2 separate regions of the Homo sapiens genome follow, and region 1 is linked to region 2. Evidence: promoter capture Hi-C in human tissues and cell types (Jung and others, 2019). All regions are on one chromosome and are shown on one strand. The core of a region is centred on a gene start or on the middle of the fragment in contact, and the rest is flanking DNA. Distances in the headings are between cores, read along the strand shown. Region 1 overlaps TRIM58 (tripartite motif containing 58). Region 2 holds the start of OR2T8 (olfactory receptor family 2 subfamily T member 8).

Evidence for each region. Contacts are between HindIII fragments. The study calls those that stand out against the background at their distance.
Region 1: a contact is called between a fragment that was not itself captured here and the fragment with the promoter of OR2T8 in region 2, in 2 of the 25 tissues and cell types used here (mesendoderm cells and thymus).

What each region holds. Positions count from the first base shown.
Region 1 is chr1:247,878,488-247,881,187 of GRCh38, reverse strand. It overlaps TRIM58 (tripartite motif containing 58), which reads right to left. Exons shown (of 6, transcript NM_015431.4): 6 at 1,050-2,700. Among named protein-coding and RNA genes, the nearest start is that of OR2W3, 16 kb to the left of the region's middle. The HindIII fragment of the contact is 3,492 bases long and covers 1-2,700 here.
Region 2 is chr1:247,918,854-247,921,553 of GRCh38, reverse strand. It overlaps OR2T8 (olfactory receptor family 2 subfamily T member 8), which reads right to left and starts at 1,302. Exons shown (of 2, transcript NM_001005522.2): 1 at 1,036-1,302; 2 at 1-556. The coding sequence starts at 536. The HindIII fragment of the contact is 8,254 bases long and covers 1-2,700 here.

The sequences.
Region 1 (2,700 bases), core at 38-2,537, 40 kb after region 2:
AAACCATATCGGGGGGTATTAAGCAAATTACTTCTTTGAATAAATTATCCACACTTCTGGATATGTAGACATAGTTCTGGAGGGTTATAGCTTAGAAAAGGCTAGAAGCTCATGTTGGGGATTGACTTTCTCTTTTAGTTTTCTATTTTTTAAGGGAGAGGGTCTCACTCTGTCACTCAGGCCAGAGTGCAGTGGCGTGATCCTGGCTCACTGCAGACTTGAAATCCTGGGCTCAAGCCATCTTCCCGCCTCAGCCTTCCAAGTGGCTGGGACTACAGGTTTGCACCACCATATCTGGCTAATTTGTATTTTTTTTGTAGGAACCAGGTCTTGCTTTGTTGCCCAGCTGGTCTCAAACTTCTGGTCTCGAGCAATCCTCCCACCGCAGTCTCCCCAAGTGTTGGGATTACAGGCATGAGCCACTGTGCTCTACCAGAGTTGATGTTCAAATTTTTATAGAGAACGAAAGAATTTCACTGGTAACTGTCAGAGCAGTCCTTAAGGATATGTCAGAAAGAAAAAAAATTATGATTTGAGATAGAAAAAATGCCAAATGTATATAACAGAAATGCACAGTAACAGGGAAGCGACGGGAAGGACAGCAGACCCAAGACACTCCATTTCTGGATGGCGTGGATGCACCATATCGTTTAGGTGAAGAAAGGCAACATAAAACATTAACATCAATTTTTTTTTTTAAAGGTTGTAGTCTATGTAAGTTTATAGAAAGTTCCCCATATTTTTAGTGATGATACCATTTTGAGAGGTGGCTTATGGAGTATGAGACAAAGCATAATTCAAAGGTGTCACTGTGATGTCACAGGGAATCAAAACCACAGGGGGCTCAATGGGACTAGGCCTGGACATGCCAAGTTATCAGGTCACAAAATCCATTATGTTTACAAACTTAAGACTTCTGCTCAATTTTTCTCTATATCCCCAAAATTTTACTAATTTAGCACTTGGCATTAAACATTATTGGCCAATAATAATAAATATTGTATCAGTAGACTATATTACATTTTGCAAAACATTTTCAGGTCCATCAATTTTGCTCTCCACATAGTCAATCATTTATTCATTCAACAAATACAGATTGAATGATAACCACATACAAACCAGCATTGGGGGTGCTTGAGAAACATTGAATGTATCATTGTCAACAGACAAAGATACCTCCCCTTGTGGTGTTTACATTTAGCACAAAAAGGCAAAACATACATAAATTAAATAAGCCTAACAATATAGTACGACGACACGTACTGTATGGGGAACAAAGAGCCTCCACTGAGCCTGGCAAGGGCGACTGGAAAGGTGAGCTCTAGATGGGCTCTGGGGGGAGTAGGGCTGTGTGGTATCACTGAGAAGCTGGATCTCAGAAGAGTTAAGGAAGAAAGGGAATAATGAGTCAAGGGGATATCAGGGAAAAGGGAATGTCAAGCAGAAGCCACAGGCGGGGAAATGGCCCTGTGATGGGAAGTGCCTGCTTTGGTGGAAACCCAGCCATGAGGCCAGGGCAGCTGGAGCAGAATGCAAAGGGAAGTGGGGGTGGGAGAGATAATCAGAGGAGGGATGGGGGTTCAGATCCTCTAGGGCCTGGGGGTTCACATCCTCTAGGGCCTGGGGATTCACTGTGAGGATTCTGACTTTCACTCTAAGTTGAATGGGAGGTCTTTGTGATGGTATCTAAGTCACTGTGATGCCAACATATCCTTGGGTGCTAAAGGAATCAGCCCAGCTGCTGTAGAGAGAATGGGAGTGGAAGGGCCTAGAGCCCAAGCAGGACCACTGTGAGGAAACGAAAGTCATAATCCAGAGGGGCAGGATGGAGTTCTGACCATGGTTACAGCAGCAGGGTGGCCAGGACAACTGAACCCCGGACATATTCTGAAGGTAGGACCAACAGGGCTTGCCGATGGACTGGATGTGGGCTGGAGAAATCAAGAAAGTACTCAATCGGATGCCTGGCTTAAGCAATCAAAAGAATGGAGTTGCCATCCAGTGACAGGGAGAAGCCTGTGGTTTTTGTTGTTGCAGTTAGGGAGAGACTTGGGGAGAAATTTGTGGGTAAGTTTTAGGCAAATTGAGTTCAAAATGTCTATTTTGATGTCAAGTGGACAGCTGAATATAAAAGACTACCATTCAGAGGAAAGGAGAGGGAAAGCCAGGAAACGGGTATGGATGTCGAGGATTTTGCTGGTAACGAAACAAAGTTCCAGAGGAAATAGTGGCAATCTTTCAGGAGTTGGAAAGGGAAAGAGAAGAGTCATTACAGGAGACACACAAAACTATGAACCTAAGAATGCAAGAGATGAAGACTCACATTGGTTTACTGACTGATATAAACCACAATAATATGCACAGTGAGACAGGATTCAGCAGAGACAGTGAGACCAGAGTACTGGGCTACACAGTGGGAAATGGATACTCCTGGGACTGGGACACTCATTCCATCCTATGGAGAGAGTAGAAGACATGTGGAGGTGTTCTCCCTCCCACCCAGGGCTTCCCCGTCTCACTGAATGGGTGGTGCCCCATGGAAGGGGTATCTCAAGCCACCCACCTGATCCCTGTGGGAAGGGATGCTGTTGCTGAGCTGAAGTCCACCTTCCCTACACAGACCTTGCATGAACGAGGGCTAGGGCACACATGGCCTGTGGAACACCAAGAAGAGGGACACGAGGATGCGTTATTTCCTCT
Region 2 (2,700 bases), core at 53-2,552:
GTCTCGCAGAAGAAGTGATCGATCTCGTGTGCACCGCAATATGGGAAGCTCAGGGTAGCAACAGCCTGCAGGAGCCCGTCAGCTGCACCCAGGAGCCAACACGACAGGTTCATCCTCAGGCACAGCTGCCAGCTCATGAGAGTGGGATATCGGAGTGGGTGGCAGACAGCCGCATAGCGGTCATAGGCCATGGCTGCTAAGAGGAAGCACTCTCCACCACCCAGTGTGGGGAGGAAGAAGATCTGCGCACCACAGCCAGCGCGGGAGATGGCCTTACTTCCGGTCAAGTAGTCAGCCGCCATTTTGGGCACAGTGGTGGAAACCAGCATCACGTCCATGAGGGAAAGTTGGCTCAGGAGGAAGTACATGGGCGTGTGGAGCCGGTGGTCCCAGTGAATCAGGAGAATCATGAGGGAATTGCCAAACAGGGAGGTCAAAACGATACTCAGAACCATCATGAAGAGGACTTGGTGGGCTCTGGTGTGGTTAAAGAGTCCTAGGAGAATGAAATAAGAGGTATAGCTCCCATTTTCCATGATTTCAAATAAGAGTGACACTGCAAATGGAGAAAAAGAAGACAGAGTGTTTATCCTTTATGGTACTCCATTTGAGTTACGTAGTAAAAAAATAGAAAAGTACTTGTGTGAAAGCGATGAAACCTATGTCAAATCTTTCATTTGCCACTTGCAAAATGTTCTAATTTGTGCATAAAATTAATTAAACTTTTTCTCATTTCCAAGGATTTCATAATAAATGCTTCTCAGGCTAAGTATTGATTAATTTTATATCACAAATCCACGTTCTGGATAAGTTGCAAGTAACCTGTCAGAATGGTTTTGCTTTATCTGGTACCATCATAAGTGAGTGAGAATGAAATGATTCACATAATTTGTCACTTTATTTGTGCTTGAGTTACATCATGCATAGTCAATATTTTAGAAGCTGAATTAAGTCAGTATATTTCATTATATAAAACTACATCCTTGACTGTGAAGGTTGTGGGTCTATAACATATCAAAACTCATTGAAACCTACCAAAATCAGGCAGTTTTCCCTGACTTAATCCAAGAAGACTTTTTTTCCTTTCTAAAGAGGGTGACTTATATTCTCAGGTCTGGAAAGGCTGAGTCTGCAGATGAAAACATAGTTAATTTGGAGTTGTGAACACATTTAGTCCTCCTTTATAGGTGATAGACTGAAAACAGTACTGACCTTCTTGGATATTTTTTATTTCTTTGCAGTGTAAGAGTATAATGGTAAACACACATTTTCATTAACTGTACAAGGTACTTTGTTGCAATGAGACTTTTTCTCATCAGTCCACAAGTATAACCTTTACCAGGTAAAGGAGAAAAAAGAAAACTAAGATCTTTATCCAATCACAGAGATAAATTAATGTCTTCTTCAGTCTCAAGAGAAATGAAATCTTTATAGACATTTTCATCTTAGATCTGCTGGTGCAGGAAGTTTTCTACCTTGTTGAATAAATGTCGCCACACCTGCAGAGGTATTGATGCTGATTCAATCTCAAGGATATGGTCTAATTCAATAAAGTTATATGGCAGAAGGAGCCCATCTCTTCCATGCGCATTCCCTTTGCCTCCACTTTTTGTATCCACCCTAAACTAAAATGCCAGTCACGACTGGGAAAGGCAGTGCAGTTGCGTCAGTCAATACCAGAGTGCATTACTTGAGCATCATAATTGTACGGGCAGCACAATACCTGAGGGTTTTATTTGGTTGTTTAAAATTTAAACATCATGGAAATATACATATGTCCTTCTTGACAAATAAATTCTGCATTTGACAAAACTTTGTGATCTTCACACCTTCGTATCTCTAACATGCTCTATTTTTTTCTTTTTACTTCTTAGAAAATGCAATAACATGTACTTTCTACACGTAGGAACTATACAAAATCTCTAATTACAGCCCTTAGTGTCACTTTGCTGAAAGACCTCAAAACCCTCCTGACTCATTTCTTTCACTCGATATCTTCCATTTCTCCGTTTTCCCAACCTTCCTTAGTGTTGAAGCTTGATCAACTTTAAATATCTTTTAAAAAATCAGTCTGTAATGTCATAACTGTAGGGTGTTGGACAAGTTTCTTAAATTATTTTTTCTATCATATTAAATATTTTTAAGGCACAATCAGTACAGTGGCTTCAAGTATAATCATATTGTTGTATGACCATCCACAATATCCATCTATGAATCTCATTTCACCTCCCTAAATTGAAATTCTGTACCCACTGTGAAATAACTCCCCATTCTTCTCACACACAGCCCCCAGCAACCACCATTCTATTTTGTGTCTCTATAAATTTGAGTGTTTTAGAAACCTCATATAAATGGAATCATGTGGTATTGTGTGTGTGTGTGTGTGTGTGTGTGTGTGTGTGTGTCTGTGACTGGCTTATTTCACTTATCATAATGTCCTCAAGGTTCATCCCATGTGTCAGAATTTCCTTCCAAAGGGTGAATACTATTTCATTATCTGCATATATAACAGTTTGTTCAATTATCCAGTCATAGCCATTAACGTTGCTCCCACTCACTTCAGCTGTATGTTTAAGTATCATTTTAATGGAATGTTTCACGACAGATGTTAGTTTTTTTTATTTTGGTAAGGTAAACATATATAGCATAAAAATATAGCAATTGCAATTAATTAGCCGCTTAAATTGTGCCAGACTGGTT